6 separate regions of the Homo sapiens genome follow, and all the other regions are linked to region 1. Evidence: promoter capture Hi-C in 16 types of primary human blood cells and fetal thymus (Javierre and others, 2016). All regions are on one chromosome and are shown on one strand. Each heading gives the region's core, a stretch centred on a gene start or on the middle of the fragment in contact. The rest is flanking DNA. Distances are from core to core; before and after follow the strand shown.

Region 1 (3,413 bases), core at 424-2,923:
GTTTATAAAAGCCAATTGCACCACACTGTAAGCAAGTTCCTAACCGAATCGCAGGGCAACAAAAAGGCACAACCCCAAGGCCTGCCCCATACCTGCATCCAGAAGAAAAGCCGCTTGGACCCTGCCTTGAACTTCAGCACGTAGACCCTCCCGCTGGGGCACTGCGGCACCCGCTTGAACTCACAGTCGTCAGGGAAGATGATCAAGTCCTGGCAAGCCAGGGGAAGAGAGAGTCAGTGGCGCAGATGGCATCACTGTGCCCAGTCTCAGGAGAGCGTACTGAGCCCTGGGTCTAACCGGGTGGGGTGCGCAAGGGGCAGCTAAGCCGCCAGACCCCTCGCTGGCAGGGTCTCCACAAGGCAGAGAAGCCAGGGTCAGAGACAGCCCATGAAAGGCAAGGCCGGGGGAGAGAGCAGGGAAAGGGGCCTTTCAGATGGCAACGGGGTTTCTGAGACGTGCTGGAAACAACATTCCCAGAGTAGTTAAAAAGTCAACGCTGAACTGCTCTCAAATGTAACAAAGAACAACTAAGAGTTTGAAAAACAAAGAAGACTGAGTGAAGCCGCCAGGCACAGAGCTCCAGGCTCTCCAGGGCCACACCTCCAACCCCAGGCACCTCACACGGACAGTTCAAGGCCAGGCACAGAGCTCCGGGCTCTCCAGGGCCACACCTCCAACCCAGGCACCTCACACGGACAGTTCAAGATACACAGTGGCCGAGATGCCCCTGTCACCGCGGAAACCAGGACGACCCATCAGCAGGGCAGTCGATGACGGCCCCACGAGCGGTCCCCAGATGCGGCCAAGCCCCCACCGCGAACTCCAAAGCGAGGACTCCGAGGGCCCGAGAAGTCGCCTGTCCTGCTGCTGCGGCTCAGGGACACTCACGTCTTCCACGTTCCCGGACGTCCTGTCCTTCCAGCAGAAGTGAATAAGCGAGTCGTCCGTCTGCTGAATGTACACCAGCCCTTTCCGCTTATCCGGAGTCACGGTGGTCCCCTTCAGGGACATCTTTCCCGCCCGAAACTCCACCAAGTACTTGTTGGAGGCGCCCCGAGAGCCTGGCACCAGGCTTGGAAAGAGCGCGCCTGAGGTCGTCATCCTGAAAGCGCGGAGAGGACGCTGAGACGCGGCGGTCACTGTCGCCTGCGGTCCGGCAAGCTCCCGCCCCCTGGGGTGTTTGCGAGCAGGGGGCCTGCGCCCAGAGCTGCCTAAGGCAGACTCAGACACGCCGGGCTGCCTTTCCGCGTTTGCCCCGCTCACGACGATCGCACCGCCCGCACTCGGCGCTGGGCCGGGGCAGCCCCGCCAAGCCTAGTGGGGCCGGCCCTAGGCTTGACGCCGTCTCCGCGGGGCACCAGCCTCGACGCGCCACCCCGGCGACCCGCTCCGCGGGGCAGACCCGCCCGAGCTCCCGCCGAGCCCCACGTTCAGAGCCGCAGGCGGAACCGGGGCGGCGCCCGAGACCCCAGAACCCCCGCCCGGCCCGGCCCCCGCAGGCCCCACCCGCCGCGCCGGCCACCTTCTCGTCTTGGCTGCCCCCGCCCCATCCTTGGTCCAGCAGCCCCTGCCCCCGCCTCCGGTCGCCCCCGGCCGCCCCAGGCCCGGCGACTCCCGCACCTGCCTCGCGCCCACACTCGTTCGAGAGGCGCCGTCCGGGCTCGCTCTTCCTCCTCGGCGCCTGCCGGGCCCCGCCGGAAACCCGCGTTCGGCCCGCCCCGCCTGCCGCTCTCGCCGCCGATTGAGCCCCGTAAGCCGCGCAGCCGGCTCTAACCTGCCAACGATTGGCGAGGGCGACCGTCCATCGCACTCGCTCCTCCCCGGTCCGCCCCCGCGCCGGCGGCTCTTTTCCGGCGGAAGCGCGGGCCGCAGGGCGCTTGGACCAGAGCGGCCCCTATTGTTGCTGTGTCATAGGGGAGCGGCGGCGGCCCCTAGAGGCGGCGCCAGGGACCACAGGCGGGTTTCAGAGGGGCGCTGGGGAACTGCTCAGGTGGGGCCGAGCCCACCCCTCGGCGTCGCCCGCCCGGGCGGGCAGAGCTGTCACTCGTGTGGCTGAGCCAGGGGTTAGGCGGAGGCCGAGGAGTGCGGTCCGGCTGTGGGCGGCGGGCACCAGGGCTACGCATAGAAGTGACCATGGGTTCAGCGCTTTGGGGACCCAGGCGGGAGCTGGAGTCCACGCGTCCGGGAGAGCAGGGGTCCGGGAGGGTAGAGCGAGGGTGAGAACCGTGATATGGTCTCAGCTGTATACATCTAGTCCCGCAGGGGTCCGGGAGGGCAGGGGTCAGGAAGGGGTGGGTCCGGGAGGAGAGGGGTCCCGAGAGGGGAGGGGCTCCTGGAGGGGAGGGATCTGGGAGGGGTGAGTCCGGGAGGGGAGGGGTTCCCGGAGGGGAGGGGGCCCGGGAGGGGAGAGGGTCCCGGAGGGGAGGGATCTGGGAGGGGTGAGTCCGGGAGGGAGGAGTCAGGGAAGGCCTGAGTCCCAGACGGGTAGGGTCCTGGAAGGGAGGGGTCCTGGAGGGCAGGGGCTCACCCTCTGGACGCCTGGATGGGAAAGGCCACAGGGTAAAAAGGCGGCAGTCGCCCGCCAGTGTTGTGTAACTTTGAGTCACTTTGACACAAACTAAAGCGAAGACAACAGATAGTGTTTGTGGCGCCCCAGCCGGCTGCTGAAGGGACACGTTCTTTGGGATTTGCCTACAGCGACGCCAGGCGGGGGCTCTTAGAGGGCTCAGGCGCGGTGGCTCACGCCTGTAAACCCAGAACTTTGGGAGGCCGAGGCGGGCGGATTACTTGAGGCCAGGAGTTCAAGACCAGCCTGGGCAACATGGTGAATGAAACCCCGACTCTACTAAAAATGCAAAAATTAGCCAGGTATGCTGGCACATGCCTGTAATTCCATCTACTCAGGAGGCTGATGCACGAGAATCGCCTGAACCCGGGAGGTGGAGGTTGCAGTGAGCCGAGATTGCACCACTGCACTCCAGCCTGGGCGACAGAGGAAGACTCCTTCTCAAAAAAAAAAAATAATAATAATAATAGTAATAAAATAGAGAGGTCAGGCGCTTCGTGAGAACCCTGAGGTGCAGTGGCCTCTGCACCCCAGTTAAGCAAGACTAGATGTTTGCAGCTGAGACTGTGCCAGGGTCCTCAGGTTCTCCTTTGCCCATCGCTCACTTCCTTCTTTCCTTCAGATACTTCACTCCCTTCGGGCGCTCCCCGGGGTCACCGTGTGCTTGGTGGCTCACCCTCAGAGTGGATGCACAGCTGTGTGCTTACGTGCTCTCTGAGGTCTTTAGGTGTGTGTTTTCACTCACCCTTGTTGGGAGATGCGTTGGTGTTGATGCTGGCAGCTCCAGTCCTTTCATTCTGCAGGGAGCCTACTACTCAGGCCTCCATTGTCTCGGTGGCAGAGCTTG
Region 2 (3,413 bases), core at 672-3,171, 480 kb before region 1:
GCCAGAGGCGTGGGCAGCTGACCAGGCTAGGAGCACTCCTGGGCCACCTGGGCTCCCAGCAGGGTGGGGGGCTTGTGCCTCTGCCCACGCTGCAGCCACGTGGGCTCCTCTCCTATTCGCTGGGAGCTGGAGCAAAGCATCAGGCTCTGTGCCCTGCAAGCCCAGAAATGCCTGTGGGCACTGGGGCCTGCCTGCTGGCGGAGGCTGAGCTGACTCCAGGAGCCCTGGGGGTGGGTCCCGAGCTCCGTGTGGAGGTGCACAGGCTTGACGGCCACGTGAGAACCCAGATGCTGCGGTGCTTGCTGGGAAACTCCGGGAAAGGCTCTACATGGCCTTTGTCTGACTTGTCTGGGTAATTAGGGAAAACGTCTTCCGGTGGGTTTTTGTTTCCCTGAAGTTTCTGGTGATTGAGCTCCTGGGAAGTGAGGCTGGTTTTTGCTTGGCTACCTCAGGGCCTCAGCAAAGCCTGGAGGGGCTTGGCGGCTGGTGGAAAGGGGCCTTTTAAGCCGCTTCCTCTGGGACTCACGGCTGCGCTCTCCTGGTGGGGCCGTCGCAGGCTGAGCGTGACAGGCAGAAGCTTCTGCCCAGAGTCTCTGGGTCTGTGATGGTTGACAAGCCCCACAGGGCCCCTTTCTCTTCCCCTGGAATAGTGGGGTTGTGTGTGGGTCTCCACCCAGGCCCAGGGGTGCAGGGGCCCTCACAGGGCACAGGGGTCCTCGGGGGGCGTAGGGGTCCTCAGGGGGTGCAGAGGCCCTCGCAGCACTTGCTGTTCTTCCAGGTCTGGGCAAGAGGCCCCGCCGCGTTCCCTTAATTCTCAGGTCTTTGGAGTGAATGCCTAAGGCCTCCAAGCCCCGGGTCTCCTCTGTATCAGGCGCTCACGCTGTGGGAGCTGCTTTCTCTCTGCTCCACTTCTACAGAGAAAGAAAATCACAAGCATTTCCCACACTTCCCCCAAGCCTTGACGTATCACAGTTCACTCATGGAGTTGTCAACAGACACAGGCACACACAGACCAGACTGTGGGCTCGGGAGGCGGGAACAAACCCCTCCTTCAGGAGACCTGGCAGCAGGCCAGGGGGCGCCCCAGGGCCCACCCAGCGCAGGGGCAGGCAGCCGCTCCCTCCTGCCCCTCGCCTGCTCCAGCTGTGGGCACTGGGGGCTGCCCCTGGCCCACCCCGCCCTTCATCCCCTCACCTCTGCCTCACCCCATGCTCCATCCCTCCCATGTCTCACCCATCCCACCCTACCCTCACCCACCTCCACCCGCCCATCAATTCCCCCACCTCTGCCTCACCCCACCCTCCATCTCCCCACCCGGTCCCACCCAGCCCCATCCCACCTTCCATCCCCCACTCCACCCCATGCTACCCCACCCTCCATCCCCCACCTCTGTCCCACCCACCCCATTCCCCTCACCCTTGTGCCCCGACTCTCCAGCCCCATCCCTCCTCCACCCAGGTTATCCTTCCTGCGGTACTTGGTGTGTTTCAGTCTTTAGTAAATTTAAAATAAAATGTGGAATTTTCCCTTCGTAACTGTTGAATCTGGATGCTGTGCACACAGGTGCATGCGATACTAGTCTCTCGACTTTTCTGTCTGACGTTTTTCATAATACAAAGTTGAAGAATATAAACAGCTGTCTCTATGCTGATGGAAACGATTATTACAAAAACTGAGCCAGTCATCGCGCACACAGCAAAAACACTCTGGGATAAAAGAGTCCCTGCTGAAAAGTATCCCCCACCAAGGCTGCCTCCGTTAGGAGAGCTGAATCCCTGCCCCGGGAGGCCTGGGTTTCTGCCATTCCCTAATCAAAAACCAAACAGGTGGAATCCGGCCTCCCCACACTTGCCTCCCTCCCTCGCAGCGTGGCCCGTCCTAGAGGCCAGGCTGTGTTGGCCCCTGGAGATCTGGCCCGGTTAGCACAGTTCTGCTGGGTGCAGGTGCGGTGCCCAGAGCCGTGCTCACGCGGCTGAGAGAGAGGCAGGGGAGAGCCTGAGGCAAGGGAGTCCTTGCTGGGTTGGGAGCTTGAGGAAGGCGGCCCCACCCGAGTGGCCACTGCCAGATACGCTGCCCTCTGCAAGGGGCTTCCTTGGCTTTCGGGCAGGTGATGCCCTAGGATCAGCTGCTGCTGATGCCAGCGGGTGTTGGTGGGGAGCACCCAGCTCGTCACCCCTGGGTGGGAGGCTTATACACCCCTCTTGAGGGCCCTGGAGGGGCTGAGCCCCAGCAGCCCCAAGTGTCACCTCTCTTCTTCCTGCACCTACTTGTGGAGTGTGGCCTGGGGAACACTGGGCCCACCGCTTCTCTCTGAACAGCCACCTCTGTGGGATCGGGGGCTCCAATAGTGGCCAGGTTAGGCACTTAGCAGACTGTGGGCAGGGGTCCAGGAAACCCCACAGCGGGAGCGAGGAATCTGACTTTGCAGCGAGGAGGACGCAGCGGCCAGGATGTTGGGCCAGGCCAGTTCCTTTTGATTTTATTTATTTTTGAGATGCAGTCTCACTCTGTCGCCCAGGCTGGAGTGCAGGGGCGCGATGATCTCGGCTCACTGCAACCTCCACCTCCTGGGTTCAAGTGATTCTCCTGCCTCAGCCTCCCAAGTAGCTGGGATTACAGACACCTGCCACCACACCGAGCTAATTGTTGTATTTTTAATAGAGACAGGGTTTCACCATACTGGCCAGGCTGGTCTTGAACTCCTAAACTCAAGTGATCTGCCCACCTCGGTCTCCCAAAGTGCTGGGATTACAAATGTGAGCCACCGCGCCCAGCGTCTTTTGTGATTTTTGACACAACTTTCTTATTTCAGGAATTGGGATCCTGACACATCCACCAAAGAGCCTTTGAGTACTTCGAAATCACTTGGAACAGGTTCCTGCAAAGCAAACCCTTCTGGGCTTGAGGAGGAAATGGACCCGGAACATTCAGCCCATCTGAGCACAAACTTTCTGTTGACCTGAGAGGCTGAGGCCTTCCTGTTCCCCACTCAGACCCAGGAGGCAGCCTGCCCAGGGGGAGCCGGGGCATGGCCTACGAGCTCCTGGAGTCAGGCAGCTCCTGAGGGGCCGGATGGTCTTGGGCTGGCCAAGCCAGCCTCTGTCGTCCTGTGGATGGTGGGGCCTTGTGTACGCATAGCCTCTGCACAGGGGCACACTGTGGGTGTTTGGACGGACAGTGTCTCAAAAACCCAATTCAGGGCTTGACAGCAGATTTGTCCTCCACTCCATGTGCATATGAGCAAGGAGAGTTAATGCAAAGCTTTCTTCATAGCAGAAGGTTGAAAACAATGTACCTTTCTATCAGCAGAGCAGGCAAGGGGGATACTGTGTGTTTCCCACTGCTGCTGGGACAAATTATAACAAATGTAGCAGCGTAAACCAACGTCCATTTTTCATCTCATGCTCTGGAGG
Region 3 (3,413 bases), core at 244-2,743, 340 kb before region 1:
CTGCAGACCTGGCCTCAGGTGTGGATGAGCTTCGCTGCAGACCTGGCCTCAGGTGCGGAGTCTGCGGGAGCAGCATTTCCAGGCAGACCTGACAGAAGGTGCCTTTGAGAGGTGGTGAGCTCCGTGTTACAGGAGGCTTGTGAGCACAGGTAGCCCATCTTCTGGTGATGATGCTGGAGAAGCAATTCAAATGTCAGAAGCAGGACTGGACTCTGTTTCCAAAACTCACGTCTGGATTCTACCCCCTGAAAACATTATTTACACAATGTTTTTCCTTTAAACAATTCACACATTTGATTAAAAGGGTAAGTTTATTTTTTAAAAAGTCAGTGTCAATTACCACAAAGAGGTCACCATAAAAATAGATAAAAAGAAACAAAATGGCATTAAATTCTAGCCAAATATTGCTGCCTGTGGAGGGCTCCCGGCCTGAGACCCGCCTCAGACCCCACCAGGCATTCTTTGGGATTCCTGCATAGGCACCATTGGAAAGGTAAATCCAGAGCAAACATTTCAGGTACATTCGTGCAAAATGCAGGCCCTCAGTCCTGTCCTCAAAGGCAAATGCTGGTGCCCAGGCTCCTCAAGAGGCCCCTAGGAGCACCAGGAGGCCTTGACCCAGGTGAAGGGTCCTGCCGCAGGCCATCAAGGGGGTCTGCAGGTCTGGCCCAACTCCAGGCCCTGCGTGGTGGGGTCCATCTGCACCAGCTTTCGGGAGCCGACTGTGTCCTTACTCTTGCCCTAGAGGACTCGGGGGTCAGCTACAGAGCACAGCAGTGTCTTGGAACAAGGGCAGCCTGATTATGTGCCCTGGAACATTCTGAACTCAATAAGTTCTATCCCAGCAGGGCTTTTTTTCTTTCTTTTCTTTTTTTTTTTTCTTTTTTGAGAGGAAATAATTAAAAGAAAAAGAAAGCGAGAACCCCCTGGCTCCCCTGTGGCCTTGCAGGGTCGTACTGCTGCCTGTCCGGGCGGCTTCAGGAGGCTCGGAACAGATGCTGCACATTTGTGGGCCACTTACTGTTCTCTGACATCATCTTTAGAGGCACCTCAAAGAGCTGAAATGTGACAGCCTGTATTTCCACCTCCCTCTCTCTTTATGGACATTGTCACTTGGAGGAAAATCGATCTAAAGATCAGAAGAGAAGTGTAGAGAGAGAAGAGAGAGAAACGCTGTCAGGTCAAGGGGCAGGTTAATGGCCAACCCAGAAACAGCGTGGGATCCCGGTGCCTCTGCCTGGAGGGTCCAGCCTGGAACACACATCATTCCTAGCTTTGACCAGGAATGGTATCCAAAAAATGACCTCACTTAGCTATTAGTACTTGATTGGGATAATACTTAAAATCCTGCTAATATTTCTGTGGTTGCTTCCATTCTGTAGTCATAGTTCATTTCTATTTTCTATGAATTTGGCGTATGTCTTAGCCAACTCATTTGAAACTGCCTGTCCTTCCTTGACTTATAAAAAAATGGCCATTTCAGCTTCGTGATAATGGGCAAGTCTCAGAAATGATGAAAACATCATTTAATTGTTTCATTATTTCAAAGTCTCAGGCTGTGGCCATGTGGTGGAGGCTCTAGAGAAAGTTTCTAAAAAATATTTTAAAAGTTACGACTGCACTGTTTTGCATGAGAAAGAGGATTTTGCTAAAGATTGAAGGCGATCGGGCTGCAGGCGAAATGTGGCTTGAAGTCCCCAGCTCCAGAGTGGCACGTTTCAGTCTGTTAAATGCTGTGTTCAGGTGAGGAGTTAGGATCATGGTACAACCCAGATGTGGGCTGGCGGCTGGCACACAGCTTAGCAAAGAAGAGACGCACAAGGCCAGAGTGGCCTTAGGAAAAACTCAGCCTGGAGTTGTCCAAATGTCCGCGATGGAGGAGTTTCATGGGGGAATTAAGATTGTCAGGTTAGGGAAGGGCACAGGTAGCTGGGAGGCTCTTTGGTAGCAAAATTCCATAGAAGATAAAAAGCATGTTCTCTCTTGGAAATCATCAGTCCATCCTGTCGGAGCCCCTTTGGAGCAGGGTGTGGCTGGAGGGCCTGGCTTGCTGGCCACGCCTCAGTCACAGCATTGGCTTTCCTGCGCTTCTGCTTCCTGCTCTTCCCGGTGATCTGCGTCCTGCGGGGCGCACAGCAAGCCCTCCGTGGGACGAAGATCTTCGTCTTCCATCCACGCTGCTTTGCTCACCTGCGACATGACCTGAGGCTCTGGCCCTGCTGAGCTGGGCCCTTGGCCAGTGCTGTACAAACGCCATCCACCATCTGGTGACAGCAGCCTAGCAATTGACCAACAGAGGCCTCCCACTGTCCTCCCTCCTGCCGCCCTCCCTCTGCATCTCCCAGAGCAGGACGACTCCAGGGAGACAGACTCAATTCAATCTTTTTCTGTTTCAGAGAATCTGTCACCATTAAAAGCAGCTACCAGGGAATCTGATTCCATTGCACCAGGTCTCAGGTCTCAGGTCTCAGGCGTTCTTCCAAAATGCTGGTGGATGGTGGGCTCTCGCCCTGGGATTATAGATGCCCAGATAAACCATATGTAAATAACACTGCATTTAACCCGCCGACAAAGGGTGGCCTTCTTGACGGTGGTGAAGGAAGTTTTGACCCAGGAGAACAGAGGTCGTCATTCACAAGCACTAGGGTCCGGTGAAAGCACAGGCTTCAGCGTCTGGACAGGCAGCTACATGACGGTATCATGTTCTCTTTAGAAGCCACCAACTGATTCCTGTGTGTTCAGAGCCTGCTGTTAGAGATTAGGTGTGGGGTAGAAAAAATTGGAATCTGGACTTCCCTGCCTGGCGAGATGGCCCTGAGCTCTGAGACATGACCTGAGGACACCTGGAGTGCCCTGAGTTCCAGGGGACACATAGCAGCCAAGTGGGGAAGAGGCCACTGAATGCCGGTGGCTCCGTGGCAAAGGCACATGGAGCTGTAGGAAGAGACATGCTGGGGCCCCCAGCACCTGGAGAGCAGCAGCCCTGTCCACACCTGGGGCCTTGGCTGCCCACAGCCTCTCTAGAAGGGTCATCTGAATTTCACTGGTGATCTGCTTGTGAGGTCTTCTGCATACACTCTTACTTACAAAGAGGCAAACGTCTGCCAGCCCAAGGGCTTCTGGAACTGCCTCGGTCTGCCTGGCTCCTGAGCCTCCCCGCGGGTCTGGGGGTGGAGGTGTTCACAGGGTTCACTTGGCTGAGACCTCACATTCTGGAAGGGCCTCGTGTTAGGTGAGTGATTATCTTAGCTTCCAATACAACTGTGCATGCAGTCCGGACCCGCCGAGGCACAGACCCATCAGGTCTTCTGCTAACTCTCATCCCGGCCCACCCAGCATGACTAGCAAGATTATATTGCATTGAGAGTGTTTACAGTAAAAGCGTTAAATGTAATCATTTACCTTGTTGGCGA
Region 4 (3,413 bases), core at 530-3,029, 300 kb after region 1:
CACCAGCCTTTCTGGGCTCCCCTTGGGTTGTATAAAAGCAGTAACTGCTGGATCAGAGATTAGCCGTAAAGAAAGAACTGTGCTTAATGATTTTAAAATACTGTTTTTCTTGCCTGACCTTTAGGTAAAAAACATGGTATAACGGAATTACATCCAGATGTAGTAAGTTATGTATCACATGCCACGCAACAAAGGCTACAGAATCTTGTAGAGAAAATATCAGAAACAGCTCAGCAGAAGAACTTTTCTTACAAGGTAACAGGCTGTTTGCCGAGGAGAGCGTCTTTATGTTGTTGGCCCCCACTCTCTGCTGGCTGGGAGCCTCCTCCCCACACCGAGGCAGAGGGCGGTGGGTCCCAAGTGCCTCCATGTTCCTTACGAACGTGTTTTGGATTTCTTATAGGACTAGATTTTGGAAAGATTTCTTTTTGAGGTAGGGTCTCACTCTGTTGCCCAGGCTGGAGTTCAGTGGCGCAGTCTTGGCTCACTGCAGCCTCCGCCTCGTGGGTTCAAGCGATTCTTGTGCCTTCGCCTCCCAAGTAGCTGGGATTACAGGCGCACACCACCGTGCCCAACTAATTTTTGTATTTTTAATAAAAGGGACAGGGACTCGCGATGTAGCCCAGGCTGGTCCTAAACTCCTTGCCTCAAGTGATCCTCCTGACTTGGCCTCCTTAAATGCTGGGATTACAGGCATGAGCCTCTATGCCTGGCGGGTTTACCTTTTGGAAGGCACCTGCCTCTCTCTCTGGGCCATGGGCTGAACTGGCAGACCCTGAGGTGCCGCAGCCCTATTCTCATGAAGCAGCTCTTCCAAGTAAAACGTGCCTTCCTCACCAGCAGTCACATATGAACACTCTTCCAAGGGCACACTGGGTGAGGTGGTGCCTGCTGCCACAGCCGGGAGGCAGTGCCTTCAGGGCAGCACTGAAATAAACACACTTAGCCCTTGCTGTAAAAGTAGTTCTGTGTTGCAGCAAAAAAGGTAAATGTTACTTTAAGAAATCTGACAGCATCAAAGTGTATAAAAGGGACACTCTCCCACAAGTGTGCCCCTGAGACAGCCAACACGAGACTTCGTTCTGTGGACGTGAGCATCGATAGAGCTCTCGGGCGCAGCATTTGCAGGGTGGGAGGGATCGGGTCCTCGCCGCATTCAGACTGGACGGAGGGAGGGCGTTGTGCACGGATGGTCCAGTGGTGCTAGACAACCCCTTTGCTTGCTGGGCTCTCAGATTTATGACAAGCAGTATTTTAACTTTCTTCATAGGATGACGACAGATATGAGCAGGCGAGTGACGTCCGGGCACAGCTCAAGTTTTTTGAACAGCTTGATCAAATCGAAAAGCAGAGGAAGGATGAGCAGGAGCGGGAGATCCTGATGAGGGCAGCAAAGGCGAGTGCTGGGTGTCTGCTGCTGCCGTCTGGGCACCTCCGTCTCAGCCACAACCTGATGAGCTCACTGAGACAGTGGGGTTTTGGGTGGTCAGAGCATGTTTTGGGCTGGCCTTGAAGCAAAGGTGATGGGTGCTGTCAGTGGAGCTGCAAAGAGAAGCCTCATTCATTTGGCACTAGCGTAGATGCTTGAAAAGCGGGGCTTCTTAAGATTCCCAGCACCTCACGCTCCACACAGTCACACCCAGGTGTGAAGCACATGTTCCTAGAGCCCCCTGTGTGCGCTGGACTGGACTCTTCACACTCACGTTGTCCTTGTTCTAGAACATTCACAGCCAGGCGAGGCACTGCTCATTAATAGAATCAGACAGGAGACCACAGTTCCCCAGGGACGGGGGTGGGTACTGTGGAGTGGGAGGAGCACTTGCTTTGATCACAGCCACAGGCTGTCCCGTCCCTGGTGTGTGGGACAGGACAGCAAGGAGCCTATGAGGCCCATTCTGCCTGCCATCATGCGGTCACATCAGGTCAAGTCAGAGCCTGCGATTGGTAGATGTGTTTCAAAGACTGTATCTTACATCCAAATGTTACTGACTTTTCTCAAGATTACTGGCTTTTTTCATGGTGTGTGATGTAAATTTTCATCTTTGGCTATAAGCATTTCACAAATTTGCTATGCATTCTTTAACATTACCTAGATGTTATTGTATAGTAAATAAGATAACACATTTGTTAAATGATAAACATTTAGTTCATAACTTACTTTTCTTTTCTGCCTCTTTCAAAAATAGTCTCGGTCAAGACAAGAAGATCCAGAACAGTTAAGGCTGAAACAGAAGGCAAAGGAGGTGAGCCCTGTTAGTCGTGAGTGCTCGTGGGCACTTTGCTGTGCACTGTAGCGCCCCACGGGAGGGGGGCTAAGGAAACCGTGGCACTTCTGTACGATAGGCATTTGCGTGTCTGTTTAAAATGTTTGCCAAGTTTAAATAAATACAACATCAGAGGTATTTTCCTGTGCAAACAGTTGGTGTCCTACTTTTAAATTCAACGGTGACTTCCCTTTGCGGGGGGCATTAGTCTCTGTGCTTTTGACTTGCGTATATTTTCTGAGAGTTTTAAGACAAACATCTGTTGCATTAAAAAAAATCTTATTTTTTGGATTATAGAATATGCTTACTATTGAGAAAGTCAAAACATTAAAGAAGTTATGATTTAGAAAACTACAGAAAACCCTTTCATATCTATGTATTACTTTTGTAGTAAGTAAAAAACATGCAAGAAATGATGCTCCTTGTCTCCTTTTCAAAATAAAAGATGCAGCAACAGGAACTGGCACAAATGAGACAGCGGGACGCCAACCTCACAGCACTAGCAGCGATCGGGCCCAGGAAAAAGAGGAAAGTGGACTGTCCGGGGCCGGGCTCAGGAGCAGAGGTACGGCAGTGTTGTGGGATCGAGGTCCTGGGGGAAACATGGGGAACATCTTAGAGCCACCCTCTTCTAGGGGACGGACACACATAGGGGAATTTGCTTTCTTACCATTTACATTTTGTCTCACCTTTTCTGGAGTATTTGTTTTACGTTTGACATTTTAAATCCAAATCAGCTTATTTGTGGCTATCACTTGAGCTGAAAGTCTTTTTCGTGAGGAAGTTTGATTACTGTGATGAGGTTTAGGCTGGATTTGAAAAGGATGTGGGGAAGTTATAACTGTCAGAAGAATGATCCGAATAGGGATCTTGCTGATTGTGCTTCCTGCACAGTGTCTGTGGGATAAGCTGCTGTAGGAGAATGGACAGTTCGTGGAATGAAGGGGAAGAATTGCTGCCCGCTGCTGTTTCTCCAAATTCCATTAGTTTCTCGTCTATGTTTGTGGTTGTATCTTTTAGTCTAATAATTATAAACCCAGCCTTGACATGTTATTTTTGCTTTCAACTGTCAGTTGTTTTTTTTTAAGTAAATTACAGGAAGAAAGAAAACGGTCTTTTATGTTTCCCTCCTTATTTGCCATCTCCGGT
Region 5 (3,413 bases), core at 268-2,767, 290 kb after region 1:
GGTCACTTCTTGTGGGACGTTTGATTCCTTCTCCAACTTTCCTGACCACAAGGGACACTGGGCCCGACCACAGGGCACATTTTCACAGTGACCCATGGCTGTTTCCCTACACTTCTGTGATGTCCAGAATGCCACTTTTATTTTGTTAGAATTTTAACCACATTGCTATTTTGTTAATACTTTTTTTTTTGAACGTATTCCTTTAAATATATCTGGATACTTTTTTTTTTCTTTTTTTTTGAGGTGGACTCTTGCTCTGTCGTCCAGGCTGGAGTGCAGTGGTGCAATCTCGGCTCACTGCAACCTCCGCCTCCCAGGTTCAAGCGATTCTGCTTCAGCTTCTGAAGTAGCTGGATTACAGGCATGCACCACCACACCTGGCTAATTTTTTGGATGCAATTTTTTTAAATTATTATTTTAATTTTTTGAGACGGAGTCTCGCTCTGTCGCCTAGACTGGAGTGCAGCGGCACGATCTCAGCTCACTGCAAGCTCTGCCTCCCAGGTTAATGCCATTCTCCTGCCTCAGCCTCCCAAGTAGCTGGGACTACAGGGGCCCGCCACCATGCCTGGCTAATTTTTTTTTTTTTTTGTATTTTTAGTAGAGATGGGGTTTCACCGTGTTAGCCAGGATGGTCTCTATCTCCTGACCTCGTGATCTACCCGCCTTGGCCTCCCAAAGTGCTGGGATTACAGGCGTGAGCCACCGTGCCTGGCCTTGGATGCAATTTTTTAAAGCACAAAGCTCCTGATAATTAAAGTCTCTTCACTCACTATGAGAATGTCAGGTTTGACATTGGGTGTGGAGGCACTGGGACGGACACTGAAGCCTCCTTTGTCCTGTTTCCGTCCCATTCCCATGTGTGCACTTAAGTCTGCGTCCATTATTGGCTTCTCAGAATTCCTTAAAAACATTTTTTTTTTTTGTTTTTAGGAGATGGGGTCTCACTCTGTGGTCCAGGCTGGAGTGTGATGATGCGATGGTAGCCCACTGCAGCTTCCAGCTCCTGGACTCAGATGATCCTCCCACCCTAGCCTCCCAAGTAGCTGGAACTACAGGTGTGCCACCACGCCTGGCTAATTAAAAAAAAATTTTTTTTTTGCAAAGATGGGGTCTCACTATATTGCCCAGTCTGGTCTCGAACCAGCCTCAAGTGATCCCTCCATCTTGGCCTCCTAAAGTGCTGGATTTCAGGTGTGAGCCACCACACTCACCCTGGCTTCTCAGAATTCTTGAGGAGGAGGAGCAAGGTGTCTCCGAATGCAGTGAATGAAGTGTTGGGTTTGAGGACATTGTATTAGCGTACTCTAAAGGGACAGAACTAATAGGAGAGATGAATCTATGAAGGGGAGTTTATTAGGAGAATTGACTCTCAGGATCACAAGGTGAAGTCCCTCAATAGGCTGTGTGCACCTGAGGAGCCCGGAAGCCAGTCTGAGTCCCCAGATCTCAAAAGTAGGGAAGCCGACAGTGCAGCCTTCAGTCTGTGGCCAAAGGCCTGAGAACCCCTGGCAAACCACTGGTGTAAGGCCAGGAGTCTAAAAGCTGAAGAACTTGGAGTCTGAAGTTCCAGGGCAGGAAGCATCCAGCTCTGGAGAAAGATGGAGGCCGGAGGACTCAGCCAGTCCAGTCCTTCCACGTTCCTCTGCCTGCTTTATTCTAGCCACGCTGGCAGCTGATTAGATGGTGCCCAGCCACATTGACGCTGGGTCTGCCTCTTCCAGTCCGCTGACTCAAATGTTAACCTTCTTTGGCAACACCCTCACAAACACACCCAGGAACAATACTTTGCATTCTTCAATCAAGTTGACACTCCATAATAACCACATACATGGGGGTATTTACCAGGTGTCTTGTTTTGGGGTCCCCAGGCGCCGAGTGTGCTTGGGTGAGAGTGGAACTCTCCCTCGTTACGCGCAGCAGCTCTGGCGGCCACATGGCTGATGAGTGCCCACCTGGCTTTGAAGGCTGTCCTTGGGCACTGTGGGCACAGACTCGGAGACGGAGCCTTGGAGGCCTTTCCTGTTACTTCGTTCCCGAGCTCCAGGCTTGGAGATTCCAGCAGGTTATTTGCTGCAGCTGGGTGTTTGGTTTTTGTTTGATTTCAGCATGGTTTATTTTGAAAGGGGCGTTTTGGGGGGAAGTTTTCTTAATGGGCATAAATGTGGCTTTTTGGATCAAGAATTTTAGATGTTAGCCCAGGAGAGGCATCACCATTATTCTTGATACCATGCTGAGTTTCGAAAGAGCTGGAGCCGACAGCCCTGAGAGTGCCCCAGCGTCATAGCGCAGGAGGAGGAAGCCCCACGCTCATTTGTCATCATGACCAACAGGAGGTTTTCAGGCCTTACTTCATCTTTTTCGAGGTTATCATTTCCCATTCTCCATAAAGGGGAGGAAGGAGAGGCTGGGAAACGCAGTGGCCGCCCCCTGTGCCCCGTGGCTTGGCCAGTGTGTGATGGGTGGTGGGGACGGCCGGTGGCGGTGCCTCATTGCACGTGTGTTTAGTTTCTCAGCTCCTTGGTGCTGGGCTGTCTGCCGAGGCTTCACTCGGGAAAGAGTGCAGTGTTTATAGCCCTGCTCCCACGGCTGCATCCCCACCTCTGTCATGGGAAGTTAAATTTAAAAGTTGGACAATTGTGTTGCTGTTTCTAATGGAATTTATGATATAACTGGTTGCTGTTTTTTGAAGCTAACATTAATGCCAAACCTGAATGGCAGGATTTGCTTTCCTGTGGTTTAGCTCAAGAACCATGACGGGCAAATGGTTCTCCTGTCCTAAGGGTTGCGTCGCATCTGCGCCTGTGTTGTGGTTGTCAGGGCAGTGTGGGGGCAGCACTGCCCTGCCTCCCGAGAGGAGGGTTCTGGTGAGGAGCCTCGTGGCCCACCCTCCCTCTGTTGGGTCTGGGTGTCACAGGACAGCAGGCTGGGAGACCCTGGAGTATGGGCCGTAGACATGGTTGTGCCCTCTAGGCCCAGCCCAGCGGACGTGGCCCTGGCACAGGCAGGAGGTGGGGGCAAGGAGACTGGCATGTCTGTGGGGTGTATGGGCTGGTTGGGGGCATGGGGGCACGTGGTGTGGCCGGTGGAAGCCATTGCTACACTGCCTTGCTGTCCAGCTCATTCATAAAAGGAAGGCTCAGGTGCCATTTTTTTTCCATGGCCTTTTAACAACCTTTACAGTTTTTTTGTCTTGTATACCATCTTGACTCACAAGTGTGTTTTGAGTTTGGGGGATTCGTGTGTTTAAGACTTGATTTCCTTTGTTTCCTTCTCACAGCTGTCAGCTTCCCCTGGGTCAGGCCAGGGCCTCCTCATGGCTCTGGGGTGGTTGCGTTCCTGACGCCAGGTCTCCTTTGTCTGCAGGAATGGTCCTCGTCCGAAGTGAGAATGGGCAGTTGTTAATGATTCCT
Region 6 (3,413 bases), core at 595-3,094, 260 kb after region 1:
TCTTGGGTAGATAACTAGGGGTGGGATTGCTGAATATGGCAAATGAATATTAATTTCTGAAGGAACTCCAAAGTGGCTGTCCTGTTTTGCATTGTGTCTCACCAGCAGCGCATAAAGGTTGACATCCTTGCGGAAAGCTGGTATGGTCAGTCTTGAATTTTAGCCTTTTCGATGGGTGCCGTGCCATTATGTTGTGGCTTTGATTTGCATTTCCCTAGTGACTAATGCTGAGCGTCTTTCCACCAGCTTATTTGCTCATTTGCCTATCTTCTTTCGGGAGGTGTCTTTTCAAATCTTTTGTCTGTGTGTTTTAAATTGGGTTGTTAGTTTTGTCATTATTGATTTAGTAAGAGTTTAAAATGTATTTTCTAGATGTAAGTAATTTATCAGATAGAATTGTTCTGTAACTATTTTCTTGGTCTGTGTTTGCCTTTTCTTTTAGCTGCATGCGTTTTAAAGTGCAAGTTTTCAATTTTAAGGAAGCCCAATGTATCATTTTAAGAATTCATTTTGTGCCTTCTTAAATAAATCCAGTGTATCATTTTAAGAATTCGTCCTGTGCCTTCTTAAATAAATCCAGTGAGTCATTTTAAGAATTCATCTTGTGCCTTCTTAAATAAATTTTTGCCTAACCCAAGGTACAGGAGTTTTCTAGAATGCTTATGGCTTTAGCTCTTACTCAACCCAATTCAAGTTAATTTTGGGAGAGTTGTAAGGTAGGGGGTTGAGACTCATTTTTTCTGTGGTTACCAATCATGCCAGCCTTATGTGTTGAGGAGACCTTCCTTTCTCTATTGAACGATGCTGCTGCCTTTATTGAAACTCAGTCGGCCACGTGTGAGGACGTCACTTCTGGGATGTGTTCTGTCCACTCATGTCCTTGTCTTCCCTTCTGCAGCTCAGCACTTTCCAGCCCATTTAGAGGGAGTGTTGATGGGTGGCAGGAGTCCTCCAGTGCTGCTTTTTCGAAAACGTTGAGGGCTGTTCTGGTCGTTTGCATTCATGTGTTTCAGAATCAGTTCGTCAACTTCTACAAAAAAAGCCTCTTGATACCTTGATAGCTTTTTGTTTGTTTTGAGACGGAATTTTTCACTCTTTCACATCTTTTCCTGGAGTGCAGTGGCACGATCTTGGCTCACTGCAAGCTCCGACTCCCGGGTTCAAGTGAGTCTCCTGCCTCAGCCTCCCGAGTAGCTGGGATTACAGGCACGTGCCACCACACCCGGCTAATTTTTGTATTTTTAGTAGAGATAGGGTTTTGCCGTGTTGGCCAGGCTGGTCTTGAATTCCTGACCTCAGGTGATCCGCCTGCCTCAGCCTCTCAAAGTGCTGGGATTACAGGTGTGAGCCACTGGGCCTGGCCAATACCTTGATATCTTGCTTGGGATTGTATTGAGTCTATAGATCGGTTTTATGATCATTGATATCTTAGCAATATCGAGTGTTCTGATTCACGAACGTGTTGTACCTCTTCATTGATTTAGGCCTTTCAGGATTTTTCTCAGGGTTGTTTCAAGTTCTCAGTGTTTGTATCCTGAACATACTTTGTTAAATTTATTCTTAAGTATTCATATTTTATGCCATGTACGTGGTCCTTTAAAAAATTTTGTTTCCAATTGTTGCCAGTATTTAGAAAAACAATTGCTTTTGGCCGGGCGCGGTGGGTCAGTGGCTCGGTGGCTCAGTGGCTCATACCTGTAATCCTAGCACTTTGGGAGGCTGAGGCGGGCGGATCATGAGGTCAGGAGATTGAGACCATCCTGGCTAACACTGTGAAACCCTGTCTCTACTAAAAATACAAAAAATTAGCTGGGCATGGTGGCACACGCCTGTAGTCCCAGCACTTTGGGAGGCCGAAGCTGGTGGATCACGAGGTCAGGAGATCGACACCATCCTGGCTAACACTGTGAAACCCTGTCTCTAGTAAAAATACAAAAAATTAGCCGGGCGTAGTGGTGGGCTCCTGTAGTCCCAGCCACCTGGAGGCTGAGGCAGGAGAATGGCATGAACCTGGGAGGCGGAGCTTGCTGTGAGCCGAGATCGCGCCACTGCACTCCAGCCTGGGCGACAGAGTGAGACTCCGTCTCAAAAAACCAAAAAAAAAACAACAAAAAAATTGCTTTTAAAAATAGTGACTTTATAGCTCTTCCCCAAGCGGCCTGAGATGATCTGTGAAAATGGTTCATTAGTCACTTGACCCAGAAATCCCCACAAAATCGTGCAAATCCAGAGGTTCAGGTCTTCTTGATCACTTTAAGAACGCTCGTGAAACTGCCCAGGCCATCAAGGGTATGCATACGTGAGAAGTCACCAAGTGTCTGAAAGACGTCCCTTTATAGAAACAGTGTATGCCATTCCGACTTGGCAGGGGTGGAGCTGGCAGGTGTACCTAGGCCAAACAGTGGGGCTGGACACAGGGTTGGTGACCCGAAAAGAGCGCTGAATTTTTGCTGCACACAATTAAAAATGTGGAGAGTCACACTGAATGTGAGGGTGTAGATGTAGGCTCTCTGGTGTTTGAGCACCCAGGATGCGCTGTGGGACTTCCAGGGCTGGTGGTCGGGTTCATCCATACAGGGCGCCCCGTCACATTGAGACGATCCTCACGGTAAAGACACTTGTTCCCAAGCCAGGTGAGGAAGTTGCACAGAGGAAAACTGTACCAGAAGAAACTGAAGAAACAAAAACTTGTGGCATGGGAATAAACTCAGCATACAATAAATGCAATTAAAATAAAAAAAATTGACTTTATATCCTGTGGATTTCTTAGGATTTTCTTCAAAGATAGGCGTGATCTGCAGTAAAGAGTGGTTCATGTCTTTTTTTCTGGTCTGTGCACCTTTTATTTCTTGTTCTTGTCTCATTGCACTGGCCACAACCTCCAGTGTAATATGACAAACAGAAGCGTTGAGAAGGGACATTTTGCCTTGTTTCTGATCTTGGGGGAGGCAGTCTGTCTTCTCTCATGACGCACATGATGTCAGCTGCAGGTTTTTCATAGAGGCCCTGTGTTAGGTTGAGGAATCCCCTTCTGTCATAGGCCATTCTGGCTGCTGTAACAAAATACCATAGACTGGGAGGCTTCTAGACACCGGAAATTCATTTCTCACAGTCCTGGGAAGTGCAAGATTGCCATGCTGGTGAGGGCCTGCTGCCTGCTCCCATGCAGCTTCTTGTGTGTCCTCAGAGTGTGGAAGGAAGGGGCAAGGCAGCTGTGGGACAGGCTCTTTCATAAGGGCGCTAATCCGGTTAATGAGGGCTGGGCCCCCAAAGTCCCCCCGCTTCTGCTACCATCACCTTGGGGATTGGGTTTCAGCATATGAATTGTGATGGCATTCAGTCTATGCACCTTCTTTTCCTAGTTTGGTGAGAATTTTTGTCGTGAGTGGATGTTTATTTTTGTTAAAATGCTT

The links. The method cuts DNA at HindIII sites, captures the fragments that hold promoters and counts their contacts. A CHiCAGO score of 5 or more calls a contact.
Region 2: a fragment that was not itself captured here is called in contact with the fragment with the promoter of ADRM1 in region 1 in 5 of 17 cell types (M0 macrophages, naive B cells, total B cells and 2 more); the score reaches 8.6 in M0 macrophages.
Region 3: a contact is called between a fragment that was not itself captured here and the fragment with the promoter of ADRM1 in region 1, in 3 of 17 cell types (naive B cells, erythroblasts and endothelial precursors). The highest score is 5.6, in naive B cells.
Region 4: a contact is called between a fragment that was not itself captured here and the fragment with the promoter of ADRM1 in region 1, in 1 of 17 cell types (neutrophils). The highest score is 6.0, in neutrophils.
Region 5: a contact is called between a fragment that was not itself captured here and the fragment with the promoter of ADRM1 in region 1, in 10 of 17 cell types (activated CD4 T cells, neutrophils, naive CD8 T cells and 7 more). The highest score is 7.9, in activated CD4 T cells.
Region 6: a fragment that was not itself captured here is called in contact with the fragment with the promoter of ADRM1 in region 1 in 1 of 17 cell types (neutrophils); the score reaches 10.4 in neutrophils.

Annotation. Positions count from the first base shown.
Region 1 is chr20:62,301,257-62,304,669 of GRCh38, reverse strand. ADRM1 (ADRM1 26S proteasome ubiquitin receptor) reads right to left here and starts at 1,673. Exons shown (of 10, transcript NM_007002.4): 1 at 1,621-1,673; 2 at 889-1,102; 3 at 93-209. The coding sequence starts at 1,101. RefSeq lists silencers at 1,564-2,023, 2,044-2,163. The HindIII fragment of the contact is 19,122 bases long and covers 1-3,413 here.
Region 2 is chr20:62,783,229-62,786,641 of GRCh38, reverse strand. It overlaps LOC105372716 (a long non-coding RNA gene), which reads left to right. Exons shown (of 4, transcript XR_936986.3): 4 at 2,813-3,413. Among named protein-coding and RNA genes, the nearest start is that of LINC00659, 8.1 kb to the right of the region's middle. The HindIII fragment of the contact is 2,684 bases long and covers 580-3,263 here.
Region 3 is chr20:62,637,626-62,641,038 of GRCh38, reverse strand. It overlaps LOC124904949 (a long non-coding RNA gene), which reads left to right. Exons shown (of 2, transcript XR_007067711.1): 2 at 1-3,394. Among named protein-coding and RNA genes, the nearest start is that of SLCO4A1, 3.2 kb to the left of the region's middle. The HindIII fragment of the contact is 4,159 bases long and covers 1-3,413 here.
Region 4 is chr20:61,996,966-62,000,378 of GRCh38, reverse strand. TAF4 (TATA-box binding protein associated factor 4) reads left to right here. Exons shown (of 15, transcript NM_003185.4): 11 at 125-255; 12 at 1,271-1,396; 13 at 2,187-2,243; 14 at 2,710-2,829. Among named protein-coding and RNA genes, the nearest start is that of MIR1257, 45 kb to the right of the region's middle. The HindIII fragment of the contact is 4,890 bases long and covers 1-3,413 here.
Region 5 is chr20:62,014,661-62,018,073 of GRCh38, reverse strand. It overlaps TAF4 (TATA-box binding protein associated factor 4), which reads left to right. Exons shown (of 15, transcript NM_003185.4): 2 at 3,367-3,413. Among named protein-coding and RNA genes, the nearest start is that of MIR3195, 48 kb to the left of the region's middle. The HindIII fragment of the contact is 7,988 bases long and covers 1-3,413 here.
Region 6 is chr20:62,036,721-62,040,133 of GRCh38, reverse strand. The region is part of intron 1 of TAF4 (TATA-box binding protein associated factor 4); the gene reads left to right. It also overlaps the pseudogene RPL17P48. Among named protein-coding and RNA genes, the nearest start is that of MIR3195, 26 kb to the left of the region's middle. The HindIII fragment of the contact is 5,228 bases long and covers 1-3,413 here.